Linked DNA regions of Homo sapiens: region 2 is linked to region 1. The links are contacts of gene promoters, found by promoter capture Hi-C in blood cells and fetal thymus (Javierre and others, 2016). All regions are on one chromosome and are shown on one strand. Each heading gives the region's core, a stretch centred on a gene start or on the middle of the fragment in contact. The rest is flanking DNA. Distances are from core to core; before and after follow the strand shown.

Region 1 (4,176 bases), core at 443-2,942:
TTTAGGACCACATTCTTTCAACATTTTTCTATGTTTTAAACACACACACACACCCTGAATTAGAGATCATAGTATACCTACCCTTTTACATTTATGCCTATCGTTTTATTAATAATACCTTTAGTCTTTCCATGTCAATACATACAGACCCACCTTTAAAAAAATGAAACAATACCGATGTGTCTAAGGTAAAAAGGCCAAACTCTTTCCAATCGTTTCTATCCTTTTAAACAGAGCCTAAGCGAGCAGAGGCCCGGTGGCAGGGATCTTCACTCAGCCGCCCTCCCTGTGCGCGCTCAGTGCTTCCACCCAGGCCCCAGGACGGTGACCGCGGACTATCGCGGGCCGCCTAACCGCAGGGACCCCTCCCATCGCGGGTCACCCCCAAGCCTGCGAGAGGGGATCTGTCCTTGCAGGAGGGAGGCGCGGGGCCGGGCTGGTCTCCGGCCACAGCGAGTGGCCCCGGAGCAAGGTCAGGGGCGGTATCCAACAGCCCCGCGCCCTGCAGAGCCCTCTACTCTTAGGAGGACTGCGCGCAGGGACCGCCACGCAGAGTGGTTGCCATGGTGACTGCAGAGTGAGCGGTCCCGGGTTTTAGAGGGAGTCGCGCGCTTGGAGTAGGGGAAAGAGGGAGGCCGAGAGAGGACAAAGGGACAGGAGGGGAGAAGTGAGAAGGGTTGGCGGGGGGGTGAGGGGCTGAACGCAGTGGACGGGAAAGGCCAGCAAAATGGCGAGAGAAGGGACACAGGCGAGAGGAAGGGGGAGTGGAGGCGAAGGGGCGAGGCAGGAGCCGACGCGGGGGCCACCTGGAGCGGTGAACGGAGAGCGCGGCCTGGCGACTCCAAGACCCGCTGCCCCTCGGCCCGGCTTACCGGCCCGCCGCGCCGCCCGGTTCCGCCATTTCCCGTTGCTAGGCGACGCTGTCAACATCCGGCCGGGCCGGGACCACGCGCGCTGCGAGGGCGGGGGCCGCCGGGGGCGGCGCGGCCTTTGTGCCATCTCCACGCACGCAGAGGCGCGCGCCGTCTCGACGTGTCGTCCCTTAGACTGTAATGATTAGAGCACGACCATGCTTTTCCTTTATCGCTCTCTGCGCCCGGGTCCCGCCTCGGCTGCGCTCAATTTCTGTAAAGCGACAGCGGCGTCAGCGTGTGCCCAGCGGGCGGCTCGAGGTCCCGAAGGGACCTGCCGGGCACCTGGGGACCCCGGACTGCTAAGCGCCCGGGAATGGCAGGCGGGCTGGGGGCACCGGGGGCCGGGGACCCCGCGCATGGCGAGCGCTTTTCCATCTCCTGCCCTAGGGGGCTCCGGTGCCCTTCTCCAGGGGTCCTACGGAGACTCCTTGCATGGACGCCCGGGGGGTCTTCCGGAGCGTATCTTCCCTTCCTAGTCCGAAATAGGAGAAATCTCCCTGCAGAGGGCGGCAGCGGAGGGCCAGCGCGCACGCGGAGCGTCCGAGGAGCCCTGCCTTTCCTTTGGGGACGCCAGGCTCGGGACGGGGCACAGTCCCCGAGGCCGGGACGCGGCGAGGCCTGAGGGAGGGCCAGCAGGGAACTAGAGGCTTGGGCCCAGGGCTGGGCCAGAAGGTGGGCGGGGAGACCGGCGGGGGCAGGCAGGGGCCGGGCCGGGGGCGGGCCCGGGGGCGGGCCGGGGGCCGGGCCTCCCCGCGCGTCCCCGCCCCGCCGCGCCTCACTGGCGGCGGCAGCGGCGGAGGCGACGGTGGCGGCTCTCGGAGCCGGCGCGAATCCGGCCCCCGCAGCGGGACCCGGGTGGGTATCGGGGCCCGGACGGGGCCGCGGGGGCGGGGTCCGAGGGGTCCACCGCGCAGCGAGCAGCGCCCCCTCGGCGGAGCTGGGGCGGGGGCGCGCGGGGCGCGTGGGGCGCGTGGGCCTGCAGCCGCGGGACCGGGGAGGGGCCGGGGTCCGGCCGCCGTCCTCGGGGTGCGGGGCGCCAGCAGGAGCGGGAGCGTTGTGGGAGGACCTGGATCACGGAGGGGCACCTGGGGACTTTTCCCCGCGGCGAGTGAGGGCGCCCGGGCCCGGAATGGGCCTAATTCGGGGAGACTGGTCCCCGCCTGTCTGGAGCGGTGGACCGGGGAACTTGCGGTCTTTGTCTGGCTGAATCGGCGGAGCAGACGGATGAGAACTTGTGGGGTGCCGGCGCGCGCCCACACAGCCTCCAAAGTGTGCGTCCCCCCAGCAGCGCGCGCTCAGCTTTCCCGGCCTGTCGGGCTTGGTGGTCTGGGCTGTTTAAGATCCGCGTGTCGGGATACTCACTTCCGTTCCGCCTGGGCTCCCTTGTTCTTTCCTTTGGGAAAAAAAAAAAAAGAAAAAGAAAGAAAGAACGAAAGGAAGGAAAGAAAAAAAGGAAAGGCAACTGAAGATTGCTAAACATAACCTAGGGGATCCTGCCGGAAGCCGCTGAATCCTGAAATCCTGTGATTCCCACACTCGGAAGCTGGTGTCGTATATTGGCCACAAAGTAGTTCAGATTTGATTCAGAAATAGGAAATGAATAGAAAAGACATAACAAAAGTTAGTCTCGCCTTATGGTAAAGTTTGTTTTACTGTCTGGGTCAAGTTCAAATGAGAAGCTGGGCTGATTGGCCAGCCTCTGCGACTTGATCCTGAAGATCTGCTTTCTTTTCTACCAGAAGGCTCCTAATTCTTTTATCTGGAATAAAAAGGGAACTCCGTCTTAAAGATGCTCACGTGAGGCGGCATATTGCCAGAGGGTGGGCGCAAAGACTGGGGGCTGGAGATTCCATTCCAAATCTGTTACTGATTGATCAGAACACTTTTTCAAATCCATGCCTCAGTTTTAGAAAATCCTCATTAGAAACGCTAACAGTAAAATTGGTGAATACTAAACACTTTTAAGAACCATGAAAGCTTTTGTAAATAAAGAATAAAGTGAGGAGTAACTTTTGGTATTAACTACAAAGTTCATTAATGGATGTTGTTTGCATCCTGAGCGTGGTTATTGTGCGCATATTTTTTTGTAAGTGGCATGTTTATGGTGAGACTATGGCTAACGAAAGTTTTTATGGCGAAAGTTTTTATGGCTGGGCGCCGTGGCTCACGGCTGTAATCCCAGCACTTTGGGAGGACGAGGCGAGCGGATCACCTGAGGTCAGGAGTTCGAGACCAGCCTGGCCAATATGGTGAAACCCCCCATATCTACTAAAAATACAAAAATTAGCCCGGTGTGGTGGCGTGAGCCTGTAATCCCAGTACTCAGGAGGCTGAGACAGGGGAATCGCTTGAGCTCGGGAGGCGAAGGTTGCAGTGAGCCAAGATGTGCAACTGCACCCCAGCCCGGGTGATAGAGCAACATTCTATGTCTCAAAAAAAAAAAAAAAAAGGAAAAAAAAAGTTTTTATCTGTGGAATTATTTAATCCTCTAGCAATTTTGGTGATTGCGTTAGTAGTTCCTAATTATCATGCATGAATTCACTTAACCCACAAAACAAGCTCATGAAGTCAGGACTGCAGTTATGCCCATTTACAGATGGGAACACTGACGCTTAGAGAAGTAACTTCCCAAGCTCATGCAGTTAGGAGTGACAGAATTAGGCCTTAGGCCCAGGACGTCCCAGCTCCAGAAAACCGTTGTACAACTTTGCCCTCTGTCTTACAGAGGGTGCCCACCATTCATATACAAACATTCTTCCAAGTGGTTCATAACAGTGCAAGGAGGTGGGACTAATCCCATGTCACCACTAGCTGCTAATCTCAGTTCACTTCAGTATGGAAAGCATCCCCCAGGCTTCAGGATAAAGCCATTGAGTTTGCAGAACCTACCTACAATTGCACTGGTCTCTGTCCACAGTTTTGGGTAATAAGGTGCAGTGGTTAAGAACATGGCGTAGAAAGATGGACTGCTGGCTTCAAATACAAATCCTGGACTGGGCATAGTAGCTCACACCTATAATCCTGTATTTTGGGAGAATCACTTGAGCCCAGAAGTTCAAGACCACCTTAGGCAACCTAGAGAGACCCTATCGCTACAAAAAATGAACAAATTAGCTGGACATGCTGGTGGGCACCTATGGTCCCAGCTATTTGGGTGGCTGAGGTGGGAGGATAGCTTGAGCCCGGGAGGTCAGGGCTGCAGTGAGCCATGACCAGCCTCTGCATTCTAGCCTGGGTGACAGAGTGAGACTCTGCTTAAAAA
Region 2 (4,176 bases), core at 1,677-4,176, 290 kb after region 1:
ATATGTTTACACAGGAAATTTTAAATTTAAATTATGACTCAAATATTGATATTTCCAGATATGGTTTAATTCTAAAAGAGTTTACTTGATGAGCATTTTAAAAGACATTGGTTACTATTTTTAAAAGTTTGAGACTGGGCGCGGTTACTGTTTTTAAAAGTTTGAGACTGGGCGCGGTGGCTCACTCATGCCTGTCATCCCAGCACTTTGGGAGGCCGAGGTGGGTGGATCATCTGAGGTCAGGAGTTCAAGACCAGCCTGATAGTGAAACCCCGTCTCTACTAAAAATACAAAAATTAGCCAGGCATGATGGTGTGTGCCTGTAGTTCCAGCTACTCAGGAGGCTGAGGCAGGAGAATCGCTTGAACCTGGGAGGTGGAAGTTGCAGTGAGCCAAGATCATGCCACTGCACTCCGGCCTGGGCAACAAGAGCGAAACTCCATCTCAAAAAAAAAAAGTTTGAATAAATTATTCAAATAATTTCAATAATTCAATAAATTATTCCATGTGTAACTTACTGAGGAATTGTCAGAATTCGCATGGAAGCTGCATCGTCTTACACTCCAGCCTGCCATCTCTGAGGGCTGCAACATTTCTACCTCCTTACCAACACTTGTTATTTTCTTTTTTTTAAAAAAAATAAAAAGTTCTAGCCATCCTAGGGGGTGTGCTGTGGCATTAATTTACTTTTCTCTAACGATGGGTGGTGGGGGTGTCATCTTTCCTGGGCTGTTGGGCGTTTGCACCGCCTCCCTTGCTTGTTATCAGCTGTGGACAGTGGACAGGTCACTCTCCTCCCCTAAACCTCAGTTTCTTCTTCTGTCCAAAAAGGAACTGGCCTAGGGTCATGGCCTCCAAGTGTCTTCACCCACATGGCCTGGAAAATAATTTAAAAAAATAATAGCCCTTGACACCTTTTAAGATTGACAGCTACCATTTTTCCACCATGAAGTTTACATGGTTGCAAAGTATGTGATTTCCAGTGTACTGTAAATTTTGGCATTTAAAAAAATAAAACTGCTGTTCTCTCTATAGAAGCCAAAGCTGACATTTTATCCTGCTTCCAATATCATTGAAGAAGTCACAGTTCTTCAGTTGAAACCAAAAATCACAGAGTCCCCAAATTATAAAACCTTAACTACTTCCTGTGGACCTGGACTCTACAATAACAAGAATTTTAGCTGTGACTTTTGCTTTTCCAAGCCGGTGTCCTAGCTTTTAGGATTAGCATAATCACGTGAGGAAGCTGCCGCTAACCACCAGAGACAGAGGAATGTACATTTACTAACCTTGATTCTCTTGGGAATTTTTTTTCCCTTTAAATACTTGTTGGATTTTTGTATTTGGTGAGTCAGTCCTTCTGAAGTCTGGCTCCTTTGCAAGAAAGCTTTTTTTTTCTAAGTGCAATCTGCCTCCAGTTTTCCTTGGGCAATCCTTTTAAGTGTATCCAATGAAATAGAAATAAGGTAGCAATGTGACCCAATAAAAGGGCAGGTTCTTTTTGATCCTTTTCTTCTTTACCTCTGGGTTCTGTTTCATTTCTTCTCCAAAACCTTATTGTAATAAAAAATATTTTTATGTTTGAAAGTAATTCACTGCTCACCCAAGCATATGTCTGCAACAAGAACAGGCACATCAGTTATTCAAACTTTAAAAAATATTAACCTATGTCTCAAAAATGCTCATCAAAGTAAATTCTTTTAGAATTAGACCAGGTCTAGAAATATCAATATTTGAACCATAATTTAGATTTAAAATATTTTATTTCCTGTGACTCTAAGGCTCTCAGTATTTAAAAAATTTATTCTGGATTGAATATTAAATTGAATTGTTAAATTGATCAAACCAGCATAAATATATTAAAATTGCAGTATATGTTTATTATATACATAAAAGTTAAATTTTTGTTGGACTGCATCTCTTAATGAGATGGGTGGGATTGTATTTTTTCCCAATGGTTCAGATGTCATTGGATAAATATTATTTCTTATCTGGGACAGAGCCCAGAATCAATTCCAAACCTGTTTTTATTTTGATGGGCTTGGACCGTGAGAAAACTCATTTACGTAAATTGATCCGTGGTGATGGACAGTTCTCTTAGGGTTATGTCTCTCCACTGTTTGAACCTCTTCAGACATTGAAGCCAAAAGTCACACAGTGATCTGTCACCAAAACCAAAGCCAAAAACACAGCCTGATTGGGTTCTCCAGGCGCCAGGAGAGACTGGGGCCTTCGGGGATCGCTTTCCCGGCTCCGCGGGTGCGCGAGGGGCCCGGGTCCCTGCCCCGCCCCAGAGGTGCCCCATCCCTCCTCCAACCCCACAGGATGGAAGGGCGATCTCTTCCAGGGCGCGGTCCGGGCTAGGCACGGAGGCATCCCGGGGATGGGGGTCCCGAGGCCCAGTCCCTCCCTCGCCCTTGCGGGACCGCACCGCCGGCGGCCCAGGCGCGGGCACCCCTGACCTGGGCGGGTTGCGCGTTGGCTGCGCCGCGCCCTGGGATGCGGTACTCAGGCGCTCCGGGCGGCGGGGGGCGCGCAAGGCCCGGCGAGGGGCGGAGGGCCCGGGGGACTGCGCTGACCGTTCCTTCGCGGGGTGCGGGGCTGGAGCCCACCGCGCTCCCGGAGGCCGTCGGGCACCCAGGGTGCCCCGCAGGGCCCGGCCGCGGAGAGGGCAAAGACGTGGCAGCCGGCGAGGGGGAGGGGGCGGCACTAGCCTGCTGCGCGTGCGCCGACCCGGGTGCGACCCCCGCCGCCCGCCCTACCCGCTACGGCCCACCCCGAGGGCCTGTTCCCATCGCTTGTTCACCCGCGTCGGGGTCCCGAGTGGGTGTGTGGGGTGCGTGTGTTATGTGGCGTGTACAGGGCTGCAGCGTGTGCAGTGTGGGTGAAGGGTGTTGTTCGGGCGCGTGTGGGGTGTGTGGCTGCTTGTGGCATGAGGTGGTGCACACGGTGCCAGGTGTGTGCAGTGTGTGCGTGTGTGTTGTGTTGTGTGTCTGTGTCTGGGTGGGGGGATGGGGTGGCAAGCGCATGAGTGTGCCTGTGAGTGTGCCGGTGTGCAGCGTGCGTGGATGCCCGTCGCACATGTGCAGTGTGTGTGGCGCGTGTGCGGGATGCCGGTGTCCCGGTCCCGCCTGAGCCCCAGCTCTCGGCTTCTTGGACTGCGGTGGTGGCGGCGGTGGCGCCGGATCCGAGGAGCGCAGCGCCGCGCGTCACCATGGCAACAGATGCTCCTGCAGCCCCCGCGCCGCTGCGGTGGGGAGGGGGCCCTGCGCACCTCAGAAGGCGGGCGTGGGGGAGGGGAGGCTGCTCGTCCCAAAGAAGCCCGCGGAGGAACTGGGCTGCCCCAGCACGCACCCCTGGGAATCCTCCCTCGCCTTGACATCCCTCCTGGTGGGGCGCCGGGGCAGGGGTCGGGACGCGGTGCCCTCCTCGGTCCCTGCTGCTTGCCCGGGGAACCCGGGGACCTCACTCGGGTCCTCTGCCGGCCTGGAGCTGGGGACAGAGTAATTCCTGCTGTTTCTTTCCCCTGAGAGTCCCCCGCGCCAGGTGTTTGCAGCTCCTAGGTCGGAAGCCTCAGGCGTGGTTATTGGCTCTTAGGATCGGCTTGTGGGAGATGAACCCGCCCATACTAAAGATGGGGAGCCCAGGCCTTAAGGAGCCCAGGACGGCATCGCGAACAGACTTGTCGGTTACATGAACCTACAGGTTCTCCTGTTCCGACCCGGGACACAAGAAAAGGCTTATGGTGAACCAAGGAAGTCCCTGCCTTTGACAGAGGCCGGACGTCAGTGCAGAGGAGAGAATCTGGGCCCGTGCTCCCTGCATTCTGGAAAGAAAGGGCTTGTTTGCATAAGCAAGCAGCGCCTCTCTGGGAAGGAGCTGGCCAGGCCCCACTGGGATTGAGCCTGGAGGTGCCTGTGCTCCCCTCCCTCCTCTGCCCAGTTCCTGGCCCAGGGGTGGTGCTGCCTTTTCATCCGTTTAACCTGAGGAGGATGGGCAGGACCAGCTTTCACTCCCTCATGCATTCATTTATCCATAACCTTTATCAGGTGCAGCGATTCTGGAGTGTCTGGCCCAGGCCAGCAGCAGCGGAATCACGCAGGCTCTGGTCAGAAATGCAGAGTCTCAGGCCCACCCTAGACCTTCAGGTTAAGGAGTGTGGGAGTGGATGTGCCT

What was found. The method cuts DNA at HindIII sites, captures the fragments that hold promoters and counts their contacts. A CHiCAGO score of 5 or more calls a contact.
Region 2: a contact is called between a fragment that was not itself captured here and the fragment with the promoter of TBC1D16 in region 1, in 1 of 17 cell types (total CD8 T cells). The highest score is 6.1, in total CD8 T cells.

What each region holds. Positions count from the first base shown.
Region 1 is chr17:80,033,388-80,037,563 of GRCh38, reverse strand. It overlaps TBC1D16 (TBC1 domain family member 16), which reads left to right and starts at 1,692. Exons shown (of 12, transcript NM_019020.4): 1 at 1,692-1,769. It overlaps CCDC40 (coiled-coil domain 40 molecular ruler complex subunit), which reads right to left and starts at 922. Exons shown (of 20, transcript NM_017950.4): 1 at 873-922. The coding sequence starts at 901. RefSeq lists enhancers at 120-414, 1,314-1,433 and a silencer at 1,624-1,693. The HindIII fragment of the contact is 6,044 bases long and covers 1-2,893 here.
Region 2 is chr17:79,746,756-79,750,931 of GRCh38, reverse strand. No RefSeq gene overlaps it. Among named protein-coding and RNA genes, the nearest start is that of ENPP7, 18 kb to the right of the region's middle. RefSeq lists an enhancer at 2,306-3,245. The HindIII fragment of the contact is 3,074 bases long and covers 1,390-4,176 here.